Regions from separate parts of the Homo sapiens genome. Here region 2 is linked to region 1. Evidence: promoter capture Hi-C in 16 types of primary human blood cells and fetal thymus (Javierre and others, 2016). All regions are on one chromosome and are shown on one strand. Each heading gives the region's core, a stretch centred on a gene start or on the middle of the fragment in contact. The rest is flanking DNA. Distances are from core to core; before and after follow the strand shown. Region 1 holds the start of KCNK5 (potassium two pore domain channel subfamily K member 5). Region 2 overlaps DNAH8 (dynein axonemal heavy chain 8).

Region 1 (7,704 bases), core at 2,121-4,620:
TGGCAAAACCAGCCTGTGCCCTCTCTCATAAAATGAGGATAATAGCACCCACAATGCCCAACACAGAGTAGGTGTGCTGTAAATGTTAACTTCCCTTGTGTGAGTCTGCAATTTAGGAAGAGGTTGGGAGAATGAGTCACCAAAGATCTTGCTTGAGAGCAAGGGTTCAAGATGGTTCTGAAGACAGGAAAGAGGACGATCACGTGGTCCCAGGCTGGCGGGTCACTGAGCACTTGAAAGTCAGCCTGCACCTCACTTCAACCACAGCGGAGGGAAGGAAGTATCTGACAATTCGGGGGGTATTTCTAAAGAAAGTTGACTTAACTCCCTTTCTCACACATTTGAAAGAGCACACACAACTTTCAGGGTAAGAGAAACCCCAACTCAGACTGCACCCCATCTCTTCCAACAATCTTTGTCCCACCCCTGGTTGTACCCCAGGAATTCCTAGCTAGGGGCTCCTTCATGATTCCAAGGTGATTCAGAACCAGCTAAAACACAGAGCGTCAGGTGGAAAATGCCCAAGCAGCCAGATGGGAAAGAAGATTTTTGAGTTTTCATTTTTCCTTAAACCAATATCCTGAGGCCTGAGGCAGTACCCCAAGTCACAAGAAAGCAGAGCAAGGCAGATTTCTGCAGATTAAAACTGATGTCAGCAAATGCTTCTACTTGTCCATTTTCATTTCTTGGGGTTTTTCCTATGACGGGAAGGGACTCGCCCAGTTGGGGTTGGTTTGGGAGTTTCTTTGGCCGGGGATGAGGACAGGGCTGTCCTTGTTCAAGAACTTATCTATAATAGCCTCCAAAGCAGACTGGCTTGATGCCCAAGTCCTTTTTCTAAAAATTACCTGCCCATTACTTTTTTTTGGTAGGGGGGTAAATGTTGACAGATTTAACAGGACTGCTAAATAAGAGGCATTTTGTTTGTTCAAATACCTTAAGAAGCCGTCTAGCCTCCAAAGCTATGACCACCAGCTGCACCCGGCTGCCTAACCCCTGGACCCCGCCCCCCCCGCCGTATGCCCCGCCAGCCTTTCCCTTTGCCTTGTGTTTTGAAGTTTATTTTCCCACATTTAGCCTTGAATTCTTTCCTTCCTTCCCCTGCAGTGTTGGAGCAACAGCTTAGAGGGAAACACTTCGAGGGCAGCTCAAGGCTTTATCATCCTTGCCTGCCCTCTTCCCCCTCTAAACAAAGCCCTGGAACAAACTAAACAAAAACTTGTTCTCTAGAGGAATTGTTTCCTCAAGGGAAATCATAAAGCAACCCCCTCCCCACAACACACCCCCCAGGGTAGACGCCCATCAGAAGGAAGCCATGTAGACTCTTCATGCCAGGACTCTTGCTGTTAGGAGGTAAACCAACCAACCATCTACTGAAGCTTATCCTCCCCACCATCACCTCCCATCTGCCTCTACCCGGGAAACTGCTACAGGGCAAGAGACTCTCCACTAAAATCCAACACTAAGCCTGCTAGACTAAACCTCCCCTTCTACAGGACCCCTTGGAGGACAAGTCTCCCCACACACGGCTGCCAGCAAATACGTATATGCTTATCTGTGTGATGTCCATCAATCTGGGGACAAGATTTTGATGTTTTCCAAATGCTTCCAACCTAACAGTCCGTGGCAGAAATAAGGAATGAGGATGGGCTCATTCCCGTTTCTCACATGGGGAAACGGAGGCTGGAAAATGAGCGACGACTAGATAGGCATAAAGTATTGAGGTGCTGCTGTAGACTAAACGTTGCTTCTCATCAGACCTCCTTTCTGGCATCTTTCACCCTGAGAGCAAGGTAACACCCTGGACAATCTACCCCTACTCCCTACCTGCTGCAATCTAGAACTTTCACCCAGGTCCTGGTCATTCCACTGGGGGAGCAGGCCAAGAAGAGTTGATGGTTGAAGCTGAGCCCTCGAGAAACTGGGGTAGAGGGCCTCGGTCCCCAAATGGGCCCCAAGGTCTCAGCCAGGATAGGCAGCCCGTTTATCCAAAGTGAGGTCAATGCCACCCATCGGGCTGTGCACCAGAAAATAAGCGGTTCCCAATGTCAGCACGGAGGGAAGTCCCCCACCCACCCCAATTCCGCACACACTCTCCTCCCCCATCATAAAGGGACTACGCGGGTATTATTCGTTTGTGCAACCTGCTACTTTCACAAAGTTTTACTCCAAGCCCTTGAAGGATGTCTCCGCGAGATAAGCCTTCCCGGAAGCCTGAGCGCGTCCCCAGCATTCCAGGCACCAGCCCTCATCCCGTGGGTTCGGGCCCCACAGAGCCTCCAGCTCCTCTCCGGAACTCTGCTGGGGGCGGAAGATTTTGCCCAGGCTCGGGCTGAGGGACCCTCCCGCCACTCTGCCGGGTTCACGTTCCTTAAGAAAAGCCTGGCAGGCGTGGCACTGGCCCTGGAGCGGGGAGGTGGAGACACGAGGGGATGGCACCAGGCTTGGCTCCCAGACTCCGGGAGCGTCTCCAGGGAAAGATAAACGCCTTTATCCGTCCCACAGCCTCTTCCCAAGGAGGGAGGTACCGTCACACCCACACTGAAACACCGTGGAGCCTAGTTCACCCGGGAATCAACTCCAATTTGTCTCCGGCCAAACTAAGTTCCAAAGAGTCTCCGCGCCTGGGGGACCCCTGTGTCCCTCGGGTGAGCGACAGATCCTCGAAGCCTGACCCATGATGAGACACGCTCTCTCATCACCCCCTGGACCTTCCACAGGGACTGAGGGTCACCCAAAGCTGTGAAGGGGTCTTCCTTTCAGCGCCCCCTAAAGCTCAAGCCAGCTTCAGATGTATATGGGGGTACAGGCGGCGACTGACCTCTAGGATCTTGTCCAGGCCCTCCTGACCCAGGCACGGGAACTCCTTGAGCAGATGCAGCTTCTGTGTGTAGTAGTTTTTCTTGGCCTCCTTCCAGTGTGGCTCCTCCAGCACTTCGAAGATCGCCGCCCCGATGGCCAGGTAGAAGATGATGGCCGAGGTGAGCAGAGGGCCCCGGTCCACCATGGCTCCCGAGCGGCCGCCTCCTAGAGAAAGCCTCTCCTAGCCCCAGCTGCTACCAGTCCGCCCGCCCTCCAGCCTCTGAAAACAGCTGTTTGAATTTGGAGCTCCGCATGCGCAGTGCCCGGTACTCACCCCCCGCAAGCACCGCTCCCCGGACAGAGTTGCTTGGCCAAGTTGGCCCACGGAGTGCGGGGAGCTGCGTGGGGCCCCACTCACGCGGCCCGGGGTGGGCGAACACCAGCGGGGCTGAAAGGGCGCCCTGGACCGCGGATGCGTAAGGAGCGGGAAGAACACAGGACTTGACTCTGGGCAGACACGTGGGCCGCTTCTCCACGCGTCGCTCCTCCGCGCGCCACTAGCAGTATGCGCCGCGCCCGCCTCCGCACGCCTCTTTAACCAGCGCCCGGCGCGCTCTGCCCCCTTGCTCCGGGCTCCGACCGGGGAGGAGCCCAGGCGGGCCCCGCCCCTTCCCCGCACAAGCAGCCCGGCGAGCGCAGGAGTGAGCGCGAGGTGAGCGCTAGAAGAGGCTTGGCGCTCCCCGCGCTCCCAGGGTCAGCCGCCAGGGGAGGCTGCGCCGCCCGCCCAGACCTGCACGCCCTGCGGTGCCCGAGGGGTTGCGGTCTCAGGGACTCGTGTTTGTTATTAGGACTGGCGTGTTAACTAAAATGATTGTGACTGAGGTCAGGAGTTTATTGCTTTTGTTATTTTTATTGTAATTCCATTTTCATTTACTGATGTTTCTTCCAAAAAAGTCTAATGCTCAGTCTCTCCGTGTCTCTCTTCCACACACTTTCTTGTAAGCCTGAGGAAGGGGGTTAGAACGGGGCTGAAGAAGCTGTAGGGAATCAGAGGACATCAGGAACTAATCCAGCCACCCACGCGTGATTCCTCCCCCTCACCCCGTTCTCACCTACCCGGGTGAGAACCCTGCATCTGGAAGGAGTGGGCAGCTCAATTCGTGGCACCCCTGTGCGCCCCCCCAATACACAGTATCTCTACGGGAAACACTTGGCCTCTTTTCTTTTTTTCTTTTCTCTTTTCTTTTCTCTTCTCCTTTCCTCTCCTTTCCTCTTTTCTTTCAGACGGAGTCTCACTCTGTCGCCAGGCTGGAGTGCAGTGGCACTATCTCGGCTCACTGCAACCCCCGCCTCCCGAGTTCAAGCAGTTCTTCTGCCTCAGCCTCTCAAGAAGCTGGGACTACAGGCGCACGCCATCACGCCCAGCTAATTTTTGTATTTTTAGTAGAGACGGGGTTTCACCGTGTTGGCCAGGCTGGTCTCAATTCCTGACCTCAGGTGATCCGCCCGCCTCAGCCTCCCAAAGTGCTGGGATTACAGGCGTGAGCCACCGCGCCCGGCCCACTTTCATACATATGCTCCAGCTGATTTAAAATTCCACCCCCGCCACCTTATCTCCCTCGTTGGCTTTATGTCCTTCCTAGTACTAAATTCCCTCTGCTATATTATATAACTTTATTTATTGTTTACTCTGTATTGTGCCCTCTCCCCGCCACACACACACAGACACACACACACACACACACACACACACACACACACGGAAATGTCTGCTGGGGAGATGGAGAATCTGTCTTGTGTAATGATGTATCCACAGTGCTTGTTACATACATAGCAGACACTCAATAACCATGTGTGCAATGAAGGAGTGAATGAATTTGTTAAAAACAGGTGCCCAGGATGTTTCTAACTCGCCTTGCTGCCATTCTCTGAGCTCTTGTAAACCCCAGGAAGTACTGAATCCCTTCCATGCATCATAAGCAGGCCCTGTCATTCGACCCACTTTGCAGTGAGGAAAAAAGCTCAGTGGGTTAGTTTGTTCAGTCTTTCAACCAGCACCAGTCAGAAGTTGGAGGGGGAACCTCCTTTCAGTGCTCTGTACCAGGGGCTGGCCCTGCCCTTCTCTGGCCTCTGTAGGGGCAGGTACTGGAGTGGCCAGAGTCCCTGAGCACTGTCCCCTGGCCAAGGCCTTTTCTTTCCATCGAGAAGAAGGGGAGTCATTTCTCACCTCCTACCCACCCTGTACCCAGGCTGTGGCCTGAACCCCAAGGTGTCAAGAGACACTTTACTTGGGGAGGGGGGTATCTGTACTATCTCCAAATCTGGCTGGAATGGAGGGGTTAGGGATACAGTTGGAAGCATTGATCTGATTTTGCTGATGTTTCTGTCTCTCCTTATGGCAACATGAGCGTGTCCAGAGAAGAAGACCAGAGCAGGAAGCTGGGGAGCCCCAGATTTCCTGATACTGCATCCCTGAGGTGTGCAGTGCCAGTCCCCTCAGGACCCCCCTGGCCAAGGATCATCCTGGACAAGGCCCTGGGGGTGCTTCTCTGTAGACAACCCACTCCCAGCACCAGGCCTCTCACCCAACCCAACATATCCATCTTCTCTAAGCCTTGCTGACCTCCTGCCTACCCTGTCCCCCAGGCTGTGGCCTGAACCCTAGCTCTGCAGTCTCATTCTCCAGCCCTCCAGCTGGGATGGAAACCAAGCATGGGTTCCGGATCCCCCCTCTCTGGATGGAGTTCACCCTGTTTGTGAAGAGTTCAGGGCTGCAGTGTGAACGCTTCAGTGAGCATGGGGTGGGGGCAGTTTGAGAGGCCACAGGCCCTCTCTTTGTTTGGAAAATTCCCTACCATTCCTCTCCCACCTCCGGTCTGTGTTCTCTTCCTAAGAAAATAAAGGGCCTCTTCCTATTTCGGTCTCACAGCCTCATGAAAATGCTGAACACTTTGAGATGAATTGATTTTTATTCGAGGCCTCTGTATGTTGTAGTTTCTTTGTCCTTCCACTCTGTTTCTGCATTTCCTGTCCCCTTCTTCCTTCTTGCTCTCCATGTGGTGCTGACTGACTCCTCATCCTCTCCTTCTGTCGCCGCATCCTTTGCTTTCCTGTATTTTTCCAAAGCTCCTTCCCCAGCTCTTCATTCTCCCTCCTCCTGCCTCTCTCCTTTGTCTCCATCCCAGTTGAATGTGCTTCCCCTCCCCCAACTTCCCCTCCCCTCCCCATCTCCCCACTCCCCTCTCCAACTCCCCTGCCCCAGCCAGATAGTTGGATCAACTTGACCTTCTGTAGATCAGGGGCACACACCTGCTCTCTGCACAGCAGCCAGTGGGGGCTTTTATAAAATGTAAACTGTGCTGAAACTATCGAATATTTAGACAACACGAGCCTTAAGATTGGAAAAGGGAAAAGTGGGTAAATGGGAATGAGGTGATGTGAGATATATATTTTCCTACAGGGCTGATAAATAAATCCATTCCAATAGCATACGTGTAGTTCTTAGTATTATGATTATTGATCAGGGTTGATAATAATTTCAGAGTGCAACCTTTTGGAAGGCAATCAGCTCTGAGGAATGTAAACCAACAATAAAATTCTAGGCCCCTCCCAAGCAAGCAAATGGACCCTTCCTCTTGACCAAGGGCATTCTCAAGTAAACACAAAACACTAGTTCAGGCCATGATGGAATGGGTGGTTGGACATGGCTCCTTTTTTTTTTTTTGAGAGGGCGTCGCACTCTGTCACCCAGGCTGGAGTGCAGTGGCACAATCTCAACCCACTGCAACCTCTGCCTCCTGGGTTCAAGCAATTCTCATGTCTCGGCCTCCCAAGTAGCTGGGACTACAGGCATGAGCCACCACGCCCGGCTAATTTTTTGTATATTTAATAGAGATGGGGTTTCACCATGCTGGCCAGGCTGGCCTCAAACTCCTGACATCAACTGATCTGCCCACCTTGGCCTCCCATAGCACTGGGATTACAGGTGTGATCCAAAGCGCCCAGCCGACATGCCTCCTTATAACTTCCTCCCTTTGGAATTCAGGCACAGCTGACCAGCATTAATATTAAAACAGAGACCTTAAGGCACAACCTGGCCAACATGGTGAAACCCTGTCTCTACTAAAACTACAAAAATTAGCTGGGCGTAGTGGCTTATGTCTGTAATCGCAGCTACTCAGCAGGCTGAGGCATTAGAATTGCTTGAACCCGGGAGGCAGAGGTTGCAGTGAGCCGAGATGGCACCATTGCACTCCAGCCTGGATGATAGAGACTCCATCTCAATAAAAAAAAAAAACAAAAACCCAAAAAACAGAGACCTTAAGACTGACAGTACAGACTCTTTGTAGCAATAAGAATCATGACAGCAGGCCCTGAGAGAAATCGAAGTATTTTACCCCAAAATATATTCATTTGGCCTATTTTGAAATGCTCCTGCAGGAGCGCTCCCTGCGCTCCCGGGGTCGTCTGGCACCTTTGTAAGTTGGATAACGAACATTTATAATCTATTCTCTCTGAAGCCTGCTACCTGAAGGCTTCACCTGCATAATAAGAACCTTGTCTTTACAACCCCTTATCTTAACCCAGACATTTCCTCCTACGGATTTCAGGTCTTTAGATAAACTCAACCAGCTACCAATCAGAAAATCTTCGAATTCACCTATAACCTAAAATGTATAAAAACAAGCTGTACTCTGATAACGCTGGACACATGTTCTCAAGATCTCCTGGGGCTGTGTCATGGGCCATGGTCACTCATATTTGGCTCAGAATAAATCTCTTCAAATACTCTACAGAGTTTGACTCTTCATCCACAGGATGGAGTTGAGCTTCACCTTGACAGCAACAAATAATGAAACTTCTGCAGGTCTCATCTCCAGAGATTGGCTGAGCCATCAGTTG
Region 2 (7,704 bases), core at 3,565-6,064, 250 kb before region 1:
AATCTTGCACCCTGCAGACCCTCTCAGAATATCTGGCCATTAACCACAGGATGCCATTTAAATGGTGTGTCCTGACAGTGTCTCTGGTTTCTGACATACTTCCCTCCCCACCCCATGAAGTCTCCAGCTTCTTATAGTCTCTACCAGCAGTTACCATAAACACACACTGGTTCACAATGTCTCCATTGATTGCTTTTCCTTGTACAGGGATTATGCCTCTAGAACTCAAGAAAATTTGGGTCCACAAGGGCTTGCTTAAGAGTTAATTTCCAATTGCAGTTGTGCAAACATGATTCTCAGACTTCTTCATTTTAGCTAATTCATGTGGGAGGTCACAAGCATGGTTCTCTGCCTGGGACATCTGGTCCTAAATGGTGTATTATCTCTGGAATTATGACATTTCTCATCGTGGAGTGTTTTCATGTTTAGTTCCAAGGTGGTGATTTAATCTGAGGAGCAGCTGAGAACTAGGTCTTAGACAGTTGCCCCTGAATGTACCCGTCACAGGGCTGAACTGTCTCAAATTTCATCTCAGAAAAATGATCAAACATACAAAGAAAACCAAAACAAGCAGACAGAAAACACTGTGAGCCTGATATCTAAAAGGAATAAACAGAAAATTAAATCTTTACAGAAGCGTCTGCTAAAACGCCGAAAAGGATTCTAACCAAAACTTACAGCAAAACTAAAAAATCCTTTTTCCCTACAAATACCTGTGATAGCATTGTAGTTGCCTCTCCCACCATTGATCTTGTTCCTCATTGTCTCCAAAGAATCTCAAACTCTCTAAAAGCCCACCATACGTGCCTTTTTCTCTCCCTTCCTGACCCCCAACCCACGCTTTTCCGGGTGGTGCCTCCAGGTCTCTGCTCCATGCATTTCTCTGATCCACACAACCAAAGGCCAGGCCTGTTTGAACAGCAAAGATTTTTTTTTTTTTTTAGAAACAATAGAAGGAGGCTATAATCATTCAGAAATTAATTTTTCATTCTAATCCTGCTGTAAGAGTTGTGTTTCATCATAGTGAACTTTCTCCTATGTTACAGAATGTAGAACTATCTCAATGGGGCAAGGACAAGAAGTACATGCTCGAAAGCTGATTCAGATGTCAATGCAGCAGGTATGTGACAAGAGACTGCTCCTGCTGCAACATTATTGCTAGAAACCCCACAATCATGGATGTTACCACATTCTTCTCGTGATGCTCAATCCTGGTTTTTCCATTTTTGTTTATCATTACCTGTGAATTTTAAACCTCAGTCTAGTTTCCTCCTGATATTCGCATGGAAAGCTTATTCCATTTTCTATAGTATATGCTCCATTTTACCTTCACCAATTTTTTGTTCGTTTTATGATTTGGGAGACACACCTTCTGATTTCTAAGAATGCATCTCTAGCAGTCTTGGAATTTCATGATCAATATGAATAGGTAGTACTTAAGGAGTGACAGATTGAGACAGTTAAATTTCCATTTTCAGTTAAAGGCAGACTTTCATTTTTCATTAACGGATCATTTCAGGCAAAGAAGGAATATTTAAGGATGCTATGTTTAAATACTGATAATGGTTTTCACTAATAATTGCAAGCTGAATGGAGTGTTGAGAGAGATTTCCCATCACACCTAATAAATACACAGGACATTAATTTTCTAGAAATGCTCTGTAGATAGCCATTTCAGCTGTAATAAGAAATTATACCATTTATAAAAATAAAATAAGATATTGGTTTATTTTTAAGCTTTTGATCTCAGAATGTCTGTACAAACTTTGGTGCAGCTTTTCCCTGGGAATTAATGACTAGAGAGGGTTAATGGGCTAAAACTCTGTTGGGTCATCAACTTTTCCAGCTAGTCATTAATTCTCAAATGCCCTAAGCCTCAATCTTTATCACTTAATTAAATTCAATAATTTATTTAATTTATACATGTATATCTCAAAGCAATTATACATAATTATTTTTACTCGGATCAAATGTTTCACTCTATTGAGTGATTTGACAGTTTAACTTTGGGCCTTAAATAATTTCTTTAGTTTCTGTGGGTGCAAAACTTTAATTTAAATACGGTGTTCATGTTAACTGTCTTTGGAATACTAGCCTTTATAACTTCCATGGTCTGTTTGTCAAAGTGGGGTAAGTATTGATTATATGGCATAATCAGAAAAGAAAACCAGACATGAGCAGGTGCAGCCATGTTGCCGCCTTGAGGGACACCATGTTTAGCATAAAGCTGGCATTGTGGAACACAGAGTGGGGAACCAGAAAGTAAGTGGGTCCATGATGACACAAACTAATCCTGAATGCTGTTTTCCTCTGAAACCCCAGTTGTATAGACGGCACATCCCCTTTACTAGTTAAGCCGGTGTGAGTTGTATTTTCGCTTACAGTTGAGACATGGTATATATGCCTTGCCATATATTTATCATGCTCACTATTTTGTAGTTTTATGTAGTTCAAGATAGCTGATTCCTGTATAAAGGTATTAAAATGTCTAGTAAAGAAACTATGTTCTCACAGGGCAGTGATGGTTTTGTGACATATTGTTTAAGGTAGTTTGTTTAATCAAGTATTTATTTAGAAAGTGCTTAATAAGTTATGTGGTTTCAGGAAAGTGTGGAGAGTGATGATAAAGAATAAAGCTTAGCATTATGGTAGTAAATGTCACCAAACGTATTGTCTCCAGCTTTCATGAGATCATGTGTATCTTTCTTTGTAACTATGAATAACTGTGAACCAGTCTTCTGGGTTTTGGGGGTGAGTCAGTTCTGATTTACCTTAGGCAGGACAACTTGTTACTGATTCCAAAATACCCGTTCCCACCATTAGATGGTGCACACACTGTACTTACACAAGTCTGCCTTCAAGTTTTAATTTCTGTTCCTTTCTGAACCAGGGGTGGCAGAATACAATCATTTTGAACCCACTTGATTCTAAGTAATTAGCTTGTACCAATTACTTGTACCATAGCAGGAGAAATGATTGTATTGACATATAATTTTTAAAAATGTGTTCAAAACAGAGTATTCACATGGTTTTTAAAAAAAGTGCACATTTTGTTTTATTAAAATCATAGCAAAAAGGTTACAAGAAATAAATATGAACTTATTTTTGGATACAGGGTGGTTGGGTATTACTACAAAATTGCCACCTTGGCCTGGAATTCATGGAAGAATTACTAGAGACGCTAATTACCACTGAAGCCAGTGATGATTCTTTCCGAGTATGGATAACTACGGAGCCCCATGATCGATTTCCAATTACATTGCTTCAGGTTTGTTACTAAACGTCTTTTCATCGAGAGTCATAGTAATAAAGATGACATCATTGACATTGTTGAAAGATGGGAACACAACAGGGCTTTTTGGTCCTGTAGGGTCTGGACTGCAAGATCTTATACTATAATACTATAATCATCAAAATCTTGACATCAAGGTTAGACTGTAGTAAATATTTCCATAGAAGAGCTCTAAGACTTAGTACTAATTTATTGAGTTTCAGCTCTGATCAATGTACTTAGTTTATACAATGCTGAACTTTGCCCCCACTTTATGTACCATAAGCATATTGTTTTCTGATATACAGGTTGAGCATCCTAAATCTGAAAATCGAAACCCGAAATGCTCCAAAATCTGAAACATTCTCAATGCCAATAGAATGCTCAAAGGCAATGCTCATATAACAATTTAATGCTAATATTCCAAAATCTGAAATTCAAAACACTTCCAGTCCCAAGCATTTCAGATAAAGGATATTCAGCCTAATATTGTAATTTCTATTTTATTCTTTATAGTAATTTATAGAAACAAAAGCACTGTTTTCTTTTCATGACAGACCTCTCTCAAATTCACTAATGAGCCACCCCAAGGTGTACGCGCAGGTTTGAAAAGAACATTTGCTGGAATTAATCAAGACCTTCTGGACATCAGTAATTTACCCATGTGGAAGCCGATGCTTTACACAGTAGCATTTTTACACTCCACTGTGCAGGTAACTGCAGAAAGCAGTTTTCACATTTAGGAGATGGCCAGTGGTGTGCTGAGGCCCCATTGGAGAGGCTTCCAGGAGGGTGCTATCCGTTGCCGCTCTGTCTCCTTACTCTCTTTTCCTTCATAGCACTTTCCCCACCTGGTATAGTGTATATTTGTTTATGTATTTTGTGTGTGCCCCCTGCCCCAACCCCCAACCCTGACTATTGGAATGTAAGATTCTCCAGGGTGAAGACTGTCTTTTCGTAACTGCTGACTCTCCTACTGTCACAACAGCACGCAGGGGATTGTCAGAGCTCAATAAATATTTGTAGAATGAGCTAATGGATTATAAAGATAGGAGCTTGGTTTTGAAAGTGCCTGTGCTGGCCAAGAATTTTATGTGCACCATCTCCTGTAATACTAACAACCACATTTCAAGATAGGATTATCACCATCCCAAAGATGTTAAGTACTCTTCAAATGTGGTTGCTAGGATTGGCTGAACTAGGATTGGCTGGCTCTGATTTATGTATTGTTTTGACTCTATTTATTACCTGATAGTAAAAGTGGTGGTGATGTTGGAGGAGGAGGAGGAACAGCAGCTCCCTGTCTTTCTCAAGTCATTTGCTGTTTGCTTTTACAGTCTTAGTACTGACGCAGTAATTTAATAATTTTATGATTACCAAGCAACTTGTCTGTTACGATTTTTTAAATTATTGTTAGTGTTTTGTTCTGCATCTGAATTTTATATTTTGTTCTGTAATTCAAAAGCTATACATTTTCAATGCACTGGATCCATTCCTTGATTTCACAGAGAATTGAAGAGATTCCTTTAAGCCCTACCTGGAGTTCTTTCTTTCCTGGGGTTGGGGTGAAGGACAAAATAAATCAGTTGGTCTATCCCAGGAGTCAGGCTTTTAGCTGTGTACAGTGATGGGCAGAACTTCACATTACCTCTCCCTGCCCTGTCCAAAGATGGAGGGGAACTTAATGCTCATCCCAGAAAATACTGTGTGTATTTACCCCTAATTCATTATCCCTACCACTTTACTAGGTTCCTGGCTGCCCAGGAGAGGGATGTGGTGTTTGTCTGCCTCCCAACACTGAGAAAGTTAAAATCAGATTAAATGCTTTGCTGGTGGTTATCTTTACTAAGTTCCATTGTGGCCTTTGGATTGTCAATTACAGCTTTCAAGTCACAGAAGCCTATTTCATACATTCTTATCTGGGAATTGTTCGCTTTGCTAGACCTTATCACATCCTAATACAAATATTGCTTTAACTCTGCTATTTCATTCCCAATTCACAAATAATATTTTATGATTGTGTTCCCAGTAGTGATGATTCAACTCTTCCACTGTGCTTATCATGGAGAGCTGGTTGGGGGTATTTGCCATATGGTTAATGTGGCAACCTGTGTTTTTAGTGGCCATTATCCAAGTGCTAAAGGGAAGAAGAGCAACAGGACCATGGTCCAGCCATGGGGCTAAAGTGCCCTTGCACTTAACACCACATGTGTTTGGGTTAAAACGGAGGAAAAATATTTTCACTGCTAGGGCGGTGAAGTTACCAGTGGAGTGTCCAGGAATAAAAGGCTGAATATCTCTTAAAATCAAATAATAGAGGGCTAGAAATAACACTTCACTAAGAGTCAGGAGGCCTGGACTTTCGTGCTTGCTGTGAAATCAGTTAGCTGAAAGCAGTTAGTTGATCAAGTTATGTCTCTCTCAGGGCTTCTGTTTCCCCATCTGTGCAGTTAGAGGCAGAAGTAGGTGATCTTTCAAGGTTTTTTTCAATTTCTAAAATTCCATCGCCCAATTCTGTGACAATACAGTGAGTGTAGGTAATTCTTTTTCATCAATTTCAGAAGTGTTTACTGTGATATTTCCAAAATCTCCTGGGAATTTTAGACATATGTTTCAGAAATATCACAGAAGTGTTTGCTGTGATTTTGTGTAAATATTTTTTTTACTTGGTTAGGATAGGGACAGCTTGATAGAAAAATCCAAAATTCTTCAGAGACTTGTTGTCTTGGGCCAGAAGCATCAACATCACTTGGGAGCTTGTTGGAGGTGCATGTCAGATCTCGCCTCAGACTCTCCTAAATCAGTCTGCATTGTACCAAGATACCTACATGATTTGTATGCACCTGAATGTCTGAGACTCAACTGCTATAGGAAGGAATGTTGTGGATTAGATTGTTTGTGACTTACGTTTCTTTTCTCTCTCTAGTGTTGAGTATAAGAGCCAAACATCTGATTTGTTAATTGATTAATTGAGTCCTCCAAATTAAAACAGGTATCCGTTGCTTTAAACAAACATGTTATATGTACTTTTGTTCTTGCAGAGACAGACTGAAAAAAGAATTAGGCACAGGATCTGAAGCTCCAGAGGGGTTCATGCTGGAGTTCATCCCACATTACAATGCAGAACCCAGGAGTAAAATAGCCAACTCCCTGCCTGCTCTCCAGTAAAAAATGTAAATTCTCCCTTGGAATCCTGGTTTGGGTGGCATTATGCCATCAGCTTACCCCAGTTCATAGGCATGATATGTGGATTCTACTTCAGTTGCAGGGAACAAAATGAGCACCTCTCCTTTTCTGGGAGAAGGGGAAGTAAATTTGGCTGGTCAAGGATAACTTGGGCAGAAGAGTGGTGGAGGGCGTGGTTTGCTTTATTCTTGAGGTGGGAGCAGGCTTTCCCAGGAGGAGGGTGCCCTGGGTGCTGCCATGGGAACATGCATAGATGCACGAGGCAACGCCGCACTAAGCTCTGCTCCCTGCCACTCCCCTTCTCCTCCAGCAACTTACTATCCACACAGAGCAGTAGCAGCTACCCTGAGAGGGGAAGTTACTGCTGAAGCCCCCACCCCTGCTGCAGTCCAGTGATGTCTCTGCTTTTGCCAGTGGCCCTTCTGCCTTCCTTATGGGAGCCTTTTATTCCCAGGACCCTGGTGTGTGCCTGGGCTCGGTTTGGCTGCCACTCCCTGAGAATGTTTCAGCATCCTCTTGAAGATTACTTAGGAGGGAAGCTTCTCTCTGGCCTCGGTATTCTGTCTCTGTGCTTTCCTGGGTGGTGTAGCATCCAGTGTAGCATCGTTCTGGGCTTGAGAGCAAGCCCACATTCACCCTTTGGGATTTTAATTTTAAGCACATTTTCCTCCAAAGTCTTAGTCTTTTGAAACTCAATCATTACATTTTTAGCCACTTCCTAACACCTCCTGCAGAAGATCAGAATAATGTTCTATGGGTTATTTTTTTCCTATTGATTGTCAATGTGCCACTCTTTGAGGTGTGTATTGGACCGAGTAAATGTCTTAAGTGGTCTTCTCAGCCAATTATCTACAATTGTCTTCTCAGCCAATGCCTGGGCCCCAGAACAGGACACTTAAGTCAAAATCCCCAGGAGGCCAAAAGGAAGGAGCTCAGTCTTTTTAAAAACTTCCAAGTGATCCTGATATGTGGCAAGAATTGAAAATAATGGCCAAATGGCCACAACCCTTAAGGGAAGAGTCTTGAACCACTTTTACATCCATTTCATAGTCTGGAGTTTTTCTCCCCATCACCTTGGTTTGTCCACATTGAACTGCGTATTTCTTTATGACTTTTCAAACAGCTTATATATAACTCTGTGAGGTGAGGTGCTCTTTTCTTTTTCATTTTTCTTTTTTAGCTAAAGTTATTGATTAGGATCTCTAAGGGCCTATAGTGGCAGTTGCAAACTTGGAAATTCTATCGTG

The links. The method cuts DNA at HindIII sites, captures the fragments that hold promoters and counts their contacts. A CHiCAGO score of 5 or more calls a contact.
Region 2: a contact is called between a fragment that was not itself captured here and the fragment with the promoter of KCNK5 in region 1, in 1 of 17 cell types (activated CD4 T cells). The highest score is 5.1, in activated CD4 T cells.

What each region holds. Positions count from the first base shown.
Region 1 is chr6:39,226,105-39,233,808 of GRCh38, forward strand. It overlaps KCNK5 (potassium two pore domain channel subfamily K member 5), which reads right to left and starts at 3,371. Exons shown (of 5, transcript NM_003740.4): 1 at 2,822-3,371. The coding sequence starts at 3,007. RefSeq lists silencers at 2,049-2,118, 3,132-3,211, 3,312-3,661 and an enhancer at 3,949-4,676. The HindIII fragment of the contact is 7,595 bases long and covers 1,378-7,704 here.
Region 2 is chr6:38,970,546-38,978,249 of GRCh38, forward strand. It overlaps DNAH8 (dynein axonemal heavy chain 8), which reads left to right. Exons shown (of 93, transcript NM_001206927.2): 83 at 1,047-1,120; 84 at 3,116-3,268; 85 at 3,829-3,984. Among named protein-coding and RNA genes, the nearest start is that of DNAH8-AS1, 21 kb to the left of the region's middle. The HindIII fragment of the contact is 4,360 bases long and covers 2,635-6,994 here.